Regions from separate parts of the Homo sapiens genome. Here region 2 is linked to region 1. Evidence: promoter capture Hi-C in human tissues and cell types (Jung and others, 2019). All regions are on one chromosome and are shown on one strand. The core of a region is centred on a gene start or on the middle of the fragment in contact, and the rest is flanking DNA. Distances in the headings are between cores, read along the strand shown.

What was found. Contacts are between HindIII fragments. The study calls those that stand out against the background at their distance.
Region 2: a fragment that was not itself captured here is called in contact with the fragment with the promoter of SLC25A15 in region 1 in 2 of the 25 tissues and cell types used here (H1 embryonic stem cells and dorsolateral prefrontal cortex).

The regions. Positions count from the first base shown.
Region 1 is chr13:40,786,097-40,790,879 of GRCh38, forward strand. SLC25A15 (solute carrier family 25 member 15) reads left to right here and starts at 3,515. Exons shown (of 7, transcript NM_014252.4): 1 at 3,515-3,567. RefSeq lists a silencer at 3,085-3,664. The HindIII fragment of the contact is 20,114 bases long and covers 1-4,783 here.
Region 2 is chr13:40,887,379-40,892,455 of GRCh38, forward strand. It overlaps the pseudogene TPTE2P5. Among named protein-coding and RNA genes, the nearest start is that of MIR621, 79 kb to the left of the region's middle. The HindIII fragment of the contact is 5,874 bases long and covers 654-5,077 here.

The sequences.
Region 1 (4,783 bases), core at 2,265-4,764:
CTCTCCAGCCTAGGCGACAGAGCAAGACTCCGTCTCAAAGAAAGAAAGAAAAAAAGCCTCTGGGAGGGAGCACTGCACAGTGTACCAGCTGAGCGCCTGACCTTTGGAGTTGGACAGAACTTTGCTGAGTCCCTGCTTTTCTCTTAGCGCCTGTGTAATGTGGCCTCCCAACACCTTGGTTTCTTCTCCAACCTCATTCTCACCAGCCATTGGGCTAGGCAAGGGGACACAGCAACTAAGTTGGACAGAAGACAAATAAATGAGAGTTTGTGCAAAAAACCCAAAAAAGGTAACTTTGTAGACTATGGATTAAAAATCTGAGCAAAATTCCGATAGTTTCTTATAGAACAAATTGGGAGGCATGGAGAGGAGAAATGTGGAAGGCTTGGGAGTGATGAGAGTTTGGAACAGCCCTTGTCAGGATAGGAGAGGAAGGGGCTCAAGGAAGACAAGAGAAAGCACTAGGCTAGGGCCCAATGGCTCGAGGAGAGTACCAAGCGCCCTGCATGGTGGACTGTTCCAGCAGGCTGATGGAACACAGGGGGTTCAAAGGAACCAGTGATGCAGTCATGCTGTGGCTGGGGTTTACAAAAGGCTAAGTGACTCACTAAAGGTCACACAGGGACATTTACACAAACATCCTGGCCCCAAGTCCAGTGCTCTTTCTAATCTATAACAGGGTCTTTCCTTTTTTTTTTTTTTTGACAGGGTCTTGCTCAGTCGCCCAGGCTGGACTGCAGTGGCATGAACACAGCTCAAGAGCTCTTGCCACAGCTTCCCCAGTAGCTGGGACTACAGGCATGCGCCACCACACCAGGTTTAAAAAAATTTTTTTTTGTTTTGATTTTTAGTAAAGACAGGGGCTCACTGATACTGTCATTGCAAAAATTATAACCAAGAAAATTATGATGGTCAAAGAGATCTGACCTAACTGACTCTATCTTGCTTCTAACCTCCAAACTGTCCTTGTTCTGGGTGTAGGCCCAACTAACTCTGGGAGGAGCTTAGATTATAGTTTAGCGTTGAAACAAAGACGACAACAGCCCTTTCCCAAAACAAACCCCCTTCCTGCCTGGGGACTAGGCCGCCTTGTAGGACTAACAAATTAGCCACAAGTTTACAAATTATGGTTTAGGAGTCATGCAGCTGGAGACTGCAAGATTCTAAACCTCCCCAAATAGCTCCTCAGGATGACATCACTATTGTAAAACCTAAGATCACAGATAAGATTGAGATATTTTTGCAGAGCCTGTACTTGATGGATTGATCAGCTGGCACTACCCAGATTGATAAACTGCCTCATCTGGTTTTGTGGCCCCCACCCAGGAACCGACTCAGCGTAAGAGGACAGTTTAGACTCCCTATGATTTCATCTCCAACATGACCAATCAGTACTCCCACTCACTGGCCCCCTACCCACCAAATTATCCCTAAAAACTCCAAACCCCGAATTCTTGGGGAGATTGATTTGAGTAATAATAAAACTCTGGTCTCCTGCACAGCTGGTTCTGCGTGAATTAAACTGTTTCTCTATTGCAATTCCCCCATCTTGATAAATTGGCTCAGTTGAGGCAGCGGGCGAGAAGAACCCATTGGGCAGTTACATCACTGTGTTGCCCAGGTTCAACTCGAACTCCTGGGCTCAAGCAATCCTCCTGCCTCAGCCTCCCAACATGTTGGGATTACAGGCATGAGCCACCACACCCAGCCAAGTCTGTCCTTAATCAGGGTTCCTTTGGGTCTCATTTTCTGAAGCTGCAAAAGCTATTGGACCAGGTGACATTGCCAACCCCTTTAAGCTGCTGTAACTGTAGTTTCAGCTGCTGGATCTGCTTTCAGTTAGTTATGTTCCCCATCACTTTGGACAAGTCATCCCAACTCCCTGGCTTGTTTTTGTAACTCGATTACAGTCCAGAAGCCCAAGTTCTAAAGTGCTGATTCTGATGAGTGTCCATGTACCAGGCACTCTGATCCCATCATAGCATCTACTACAGCCTGGGAGGTCTACTCAAGTGTGCATTCATGTTAAGCACTAACACCAATTAAATCACTTAAATAACGTAGGTAATTATCCAATAGCACATCCAGACGTGGTGGCTCACACGTGTAATCCCAGCACTTTGAGAGGCCGAGGCAGGCAGATCACCTGAGGTCAGGAGTTCGAGACCAGCCCGGCCAAGGTGGTGAAACCCTGTCTCTACTAAAAAATACAAAATTAGCTGGGTGTGGTGGCGCATGCCTGTAATCCCAGCTACTTGGGAAGCTAAGGCAGGAGAATCGCTTGAACCCAGGAGGGGGAGGTTGCAGTGAGCTGAGATTGCACCATTGCACTCCAGCTCGGGTGACAGAGTGAGACTCTGTCTCAAAAAAAAAAAGAAAAAAAAAGAAAAAAATAATAATCCAACAGCACATCTAAACAAGGCTTAAAGTTGTAAAATAAAATTACACTGTGTGGAGGGTGTGTGTGTGTGTGTGTGTGTGTGTGTGTGGGTGAGAGAGAGAGAGAGAGAGAGATGAGGTCTCTGTCATCCAGGCTGGAGTGCAACAGTGCCATCATAGCTCACTGCGGCCTCCAATTCCTGGCCTCAAGCGATCCTCCCGCCTTGGCCTCCCAAATAGCTAAGAATAGAGGCATGTGTCACCACACCTTTTTTTTTTTGTCGTTGTTTGTTTGTTTTTATGAAACGGAGTCTCGCTGTGTAGCCCAGGCTGGAGTGTAGTGATGCAATCTTGGCTCACTGCAACCTTCACCTCCCAGATTCAAGCGATTCTCCTGCCTCAGCCTCCCTAGTAGCTGGGGTTACAGACACGCACCACCACGCTGGATAAATTTTTGTAATTTTAGTACACGGGGTTTCACCATGTTGGCCAGGCTGGTCTTGGACTCCTGACCTCAGGTGATCCGCCTACCTCGGCCTCCCACAGTGCTGGGATTACAGGCGTGAGCCACCATGCCCGGCTAATTCCTGTATTTTCATACTTAGTTGTATTTCCTATTAGGGCCTTGGATCCCGAGTATAATTTTGTACTCAAATATAATTTATAAATAAGGCCTTAGCCTCCCAACAAGGTCAAAGTAGCTAAAAAGTAAGTCCTCCCAACCACTGACATTACCAGCCCCCAGCCCCCAGTCCCAGCCCAGCGGGCTAACAAGGGTCCGGCCTCAGAGAGGGTCTCGGGGATCCCAGAGGTGGGAAAGTCTCCGGAGGCGCAGGCCCCGCTCTCCACCTTCACCAGGGTCGGCGGCAGCACCACGCCGGGTCGCGGGCTGGCTGTGCGCGCCGCGGCCCCACGCCCACTTCCGCTTCCCGTGCTGGGGGCGGTGGCAGGGCCGGTGGGCGGTGGCGGCTCCCGGTCTCGGCTCGGGCACGGCCCTGGGCAGGCCGCCCGCCAGCCGCAGGGGCGCTCCTGAGCTTCGCGGGGCCGCAGTCCGGGATGCCTGCGCGAAGGGAGGGGCGAAGGGCCGGCCGTTGCCGACGTGGGTGTTAAGTGGCCGCCCCAGCCGGCGACCCGGAGCCGAGAGCGGGCGGCGGAGCCTGAGCTGGACGCGGCCACGCCGGCGCGGCGGTGAGCGCAGCCCGGTCTGGCGCCTGCAGCTGCGGGGAGCGCGCCAGGCAGAGGGAGCGGGGAGCGGGGCGCGGGGCGGGCCTCGGTGTGCGGGCGGCGTGACCTTCCCGAGCGGCGGGGGAAGCGGCCAGCGTCGCAGCGCACGTGCCGCGGGACTCGGAGAATCTCGGGGTTGTCGGCCTCCTTCCTGCAGTGCCCACCTGGTGGGAACTTTTGTCCTTGTTTGCCCCCAAGTCCTGTCATTTGGCTGCGGGGCTCCGCGCCTCAGGGGCGCCAGTGCTGGGCAGCATGGAGCCGCTTGTGAATGGAGACTTGCTGGCTGCCCAGGAGTGGGCGGCTGGGCAGGGGCGGTGAACGTTTAGGGTCCGGCCAAGAAAGTTGGAAGTCGTCTCCCTGACCTGTTCCTTGCGAGGCCCGGGAGGAGACGCGCCTGGCCGGTCCTTGGCGGCGAAACTGATTTGCATCTCCACGCTTTACCTAAAGCCCGGGCTCTGGGGACTGGATGGCGAGCTGGCCTGCGGCTCCTTTAGCCAGAAGCTGGGATCTTCCCGCAGCAGTTCGTGTTCCCTGGTGGAAAATGCAGCCTCATCTACTGACTCTCCCTTCCAAAAAAAAGTTATTTTCCCCAAGGGTCGAGAAAAGTGGGTGGTCGGCACTGTTGTTCCTCAGTTGCACCCTGGTGTAATTTGAGAGAGGGGTCAAAGGCGCTGAAAAGATTCTTTTTTCTATTCCAAGTGCTACAGCAAGCTCATAAATCAATTTTAATTCATGCTGAACAGTCTTGCCTCCTCCAAGCCCTGTGTCTTCTCCAAGCCAGAGCTACACATAATGTGAATTAGCTGCCCACTCCTTCTGAGTGAATCTGTTAGTACCCATCATCGTTTTCTATCCTAATAATTCTAATGGCTATTTGTAGAATTTATTTGTTTGTTTATTTTTTTGAGACGGAGTTTCGCTCTTGTTGCCCAGGCTGGAGTGCAATGGGGCGATCTCGGCTCACCGCAACCTCCGCCTCCTGGGTTCAAGCTATTCTCCTCCCTCAGCCTCCCGAGTAGCTGGGATTACAAGCATGGCCCACCACGCCAGGCTAATTTTGTATTTTTAATAGAGACGGGGGTTTCTCATGTTGGTCAGGCTGGTCTCGAACTCCCGACCTCAGGTGATCCGCCCGCCTTGGCCTCCCAAAGTGCTGGGATTACAGGCGTGAGCCACTGTG
Region 2 (5,077 bases), core at 2,341-4,840, 100 kb after region 1:
GTAATGGCATCTAGTGAGTAGAGACCACAGTTGCTACTAAACATCCTACAATATACACAGCAATCCCCCAAAATGTCAATAATGCCACTATTAAGAAATCCGATTCTGAAAAAAGGTTCCAAGATGGCCGAATAGGAACAGCTCCAGTCTACAGCTCCCAGCATGAGTGACGCAGAAGACGGGTGATTTCTGCATTTCCAACTGACCTTTGAAGAGAGTAGTAGTTCTCCCAGCATGGAGTATGAGATCTGAGAATGACAGACTGCCTCCTCAAGTGGGTCCCTGACCCCTGTGTAGCCTAACTGGGAGGCACCCCCAAGTAGGGGCAGACTGACACTTCACAAGGCCAGGTACCCCTCTGAGACGAAGCTTCCAGAGGAACAATCAGGCAGCAACATTTGCTGTTCTGCAATATTTGCAGTTCTGCAGCCTCTGCTGGTGACACCCAGGCAAACAGCGTCTGGAGTGGACCTCCAGCAAACTCCAACAGATGAGCAGCTGAGGGTCCTGACTGTTAGAAGGAAACCTAACAAACAGAAAGGACATCCACATCAAAACTCCATCTGTACGTCACCATCATCAAAGACCAAAGGTAGATAAAACCACAAAGATGGGGAGAAACCAGAGCAGAAAGGCTGAAAATTCTAAAAATCAGAGTGCCTCTTCTCCTCCAAAGGAATGTAGCTCCTCACCAGCAACGGAACAAAGCTGGATGGAGATTAACTTTGATAAGTTGAGAGAAGAAGGCTTCAGAAGATTGATAATAACTAACTTCTCTGAGCTAACGGACGATGTTCAAATCAATTGCAAAGAAGCTAAAAACCTTGAAAAAAGATTTGACGACTGGCTAACTAGAATAAACAGCATAGAGAATACCTTAAATGACCTGATGGAGCTGAAAAACATTGGAACAAGAACTACAAGACACATGCACAAGCTTCAGTAGCCGAATTGATCAACTGGAAGAAAGGGTATCAGTGATTGAGATCAAATGAATGAAATGAAGTAAGAAGAGAAGTTTAGAGAAAAAAGAGTAAAAAGAAATGAACAAAGCCTCCAAGAAATATGGGACTACGTGAAAAGACCAAATCTACGTCTGATTGGTGTACCTGAAAGTGACGGGGAGAATGCAACCAAGTTGGAAAACACTCTTCAGGATATAATCCAGGAGAACTTCCCCAACCTAGCAAGGCAGGCCAACATTTAAATTCAGGAAATACGGAGAATGCCACAAAAATACTCCTCGAGAAGAGCAACCCCAAGACTCATAATTGTGAGATTCACCAACATTGAAATGAAGGAAAAAATGTTAAGGGCAGCCAGAGAGAAAGATCGGGCTACCCACAAAGGGAAGCCCATCAGACTAACAGTGGATCTCTCGGCAGAAACTCTACAAGCCAGAAGAGAGTGGGGGCCAATATTCAACATTCTTAAAGAAAAGAATTTTCAACCCAGAATTTCATATCCAGCCAAATTAAGCTTCATAAGTGAAGGAGAAATAAAATTCTTTACAGACAAGTGAATGCTGAGAGATTTTGTCACCACCAGGTCTGCCTTACAAGAGCTCCTGAAGGAAGCACTAAACATGGAAAGGAACAACTGGTACCAGCCACTGCAAAAACATACCAAATTGTAAAGACCATAGAGGCTAGGAAGAAACTGCATCAACTAACAAGCAAAATAACCAGCTAACATCATAATGACAGGATCAAATTCACACATAACAATATTAACCTTAAATGTAAATGGACTAAATGCTCCAATTAAAAGACACAAACTGGCAAATTGGATAGAGTCAAGACCCATCAGTGTGCTGTATTCAGGAAACCCATCTCACGTGCAGAGACACACATAGGCTCAAAATAAATGGATGGAGGAAGATCTACCAAGCAAATGGAAAACAAAAAAAGCAGGGGTTGCAATCCTAGTCTCTGATAAAACAGACTTTAAACCAACAAAGATCAGAAGAGACAAAGAAGGCCATTACATAATGGTAAAGGGATCAATTCAACAAGAAAAGTTAACTATCCTAAATATATATAAACCCAAAACAGGAGCACCCAGATTCATAAGCAAGTCCTTAGAGACCTACAAAGAGACTTAGACTCCCACACAATAATAATGGGAGACTTTAACATGCCACTGTCAATATTAGACAGATCCACAAGACAGAAAGTTAACAAGGATATCCAGGAATTGAACTCAGCTCCGCACCAAGTGGACCTAATAGACATCTACAGAACTCTCCACCCCAAATCAACAGAATATACATTCTTCTCAGCACCACACCACACTTATTCCAAAATTGACTACATAGTTGGAAGTAAAGCACTCCTCAGCAAATGTAAAAGAACAGAAATTATAACAAACTGTGTCTCAGACCACAGTGCAATCAAACCAGAACTCAGGATTAAGAAACTCACTCAAAACTGCTCAACTACATGGAAACTGAACAACCTGCTCCTGAATGACTACTTGGGTACATAACGAAATAAAGGCAGAAATAAAGACGTTCTTTTAAATCAATGAGAACAAAGACACAACATACCAGAATCTCTGGGACACATTTAAAGCAGTGTGTAGACAGAAATTTATAGTACTAAATGCCCACAAGAGCAAGCAGGAAAGATCTAAAATTGACACCATAACATCACAATTAAAAGAACTAGAGAAGCAAGAGCAAACACTTCAAAAGCTAGCAGAAGCCAAGAAATAACTGAAGTGAAGGAGACAGAGACACAAAAAACCCTTCAAAAAATCAATGAATCCAGAAGCTGGTTTTTTGAAAAGATCAACAAAATTGATAGACTGCTAGCAAGATTAACAAAGAAGACAAGAGAGTAGAATCAAATAGATGCAATAAAAAATGATAAAGGGGATATCACAACCGATCCCACAGAAATACAAACTACCATCAGAGAATACTCTACACAACTCTATGCAAATGAACTAGAAAATCTAGAAGAAATTGATAAATTCCTGGACACATACACCCTCCCAAGACTAAACCAGGAAGAAGTTGAATCCCTGAATACACCAATAACAGGCTTTAAAATTGAGGCAATAATTAATACCCTACCAACCAAAAAAAGTCCAGGACCAGACGGATTCACAGCTGAATTCTACCAGAGGTACAAAGAGGAGCTGGTACCATTCCTTCTGAAACTATTCCAATCAATAGAAAAAGAGGGAGTCCTCCCTAACTCATTTTATGAGGCCAGCATCATCCTGATACCAAAGCCTGGCAGAGACACAACAAAAAAAAAGAATTTTAGACCAATATCCCTGATGAACATCAACACAAAAATCCTCAATAAAATACTGACAAACCGAATCCAGCAGCACATCAAAAAGCTTATCCACCATGATCAAGTGGGCTTCATCCCAGGAATGCAAGGCTGGTTGAACATATGCAAATCAATAAATGTAATCCAGCATATAAACAGATCCAAAGACAAAAACCACATGATTATCTCAATAGATGCAGAAAAGGCCTTTGACAAAATTCAACAACACTTCATGCTAACAACTCTCAATAAATTAGGTATTGATGGGATGTATCTCAAAATAATAAGAGCTATTTATGACAAACCCACAGCCAATATCATACTGAATGGGCAAAAACTGGAAGCATTCCCTTTGAAAACTGGCACAAGACAGGGATGCCCTCTCTCACCACTCCTATTCCACATAGTGTTGGAAGTTCTGGCCAGGGCAATCAGGCAGGAGAAAGAAATAAAGGGTATTCAATTAGGAAAAGAGGAAGTCAAATTGGCCCTGTTTGCAGATGACATGATTGTATATTTAGAAAACCCCATTGTCTCAGCCCAAAATCTCCTTAAGCTGATAAGCAACTTCAGCAAAGTCTCAGGATACAAAATCAATGTGCAAAAATCACAAGCATTCCCATACAACAATAACAGACAAACAGAGAGCCAAATCATGAGTGAACTCCCATTCACAATTGCTTCAAAGAGAATAAAATACCTAGGAATCCAACTTACAAGGGATGTGAAGGACTTGTTCAAGGAGAATTACAAACCACTGCTCAACGAAATAAAAGAGGACACAAACAAATGGAAGAACATTCCATGCTCATGGGTAGGAAGAATCAGTATCATGAAAATGGCCATACTGCCCAAGGTAATTTATAGATTCAATGCCATCCCCATCAAGCTACCAATGACTTTCTTCACAGAATTGGAAAAAACGACTTTCAAGTTCATATGGAACCAAAAAAGAGCCCACATCACCAAGTCAATCCTAAGCCAAAAGAACAAAGCTGGAGGCATCATGCTACTTGACTTCAAACTATACTACAAGGGTACGGTAACCAAAACAGTATGGTACTGGTACCAAAACAGAGATATAGACCAATGGAACAGAACAGAGCCCTCAGAAATAATACCACACATCTACAACCATCTGATCTTTGACAAACCTGAGAAAAACAAGAAATGGGGAAAGGATTCCCTATTTAATAAATGGTGCTGGGAAAACTGGCCATATGTAGAAAGCTGAAACTGGATCCCTTCCTTACACCTTATACAAAATTTAATTCAAGATGGATTAAAGACTTAAATGTCAGATCTGAAACCATAAAAACCCTAGAAGAAAACCTAGGCAATACCATTCAGGACATAGGCATGGGCAAGGACTTCATGTCTAAAACACCAAAAGCAATGGCAACAAAAGCCAAAATTGACAAATGGGATCTAATTAAACTAAAGAGCTTCTGCACAGCAAAAGAAATTACCATCAGAGTGAACAGGCAACCTACAGAATGGGAGAAAATTTTTGCAATCTATCCATCTCACAAAGGGCTGACATCTAGAATTTATTAAGAACTTAAACAAATTTACAAGAAAAAATCAAACAACCCCATCAAAAAGTGGGCAAAGGATATGAACAGACACTTCTCAAAAGAAGACATTTATGCAGCCAACAGACACTTGAAAAAATGCTCATCATCACTGGTCATCAGAGAAATGCAAATCAAAACCACAATGAGATACCATCTCATACCAGTTAGAATGGCGATCATTAAAAAGTCAGGAAACAACAGGTGCTGGAGAGG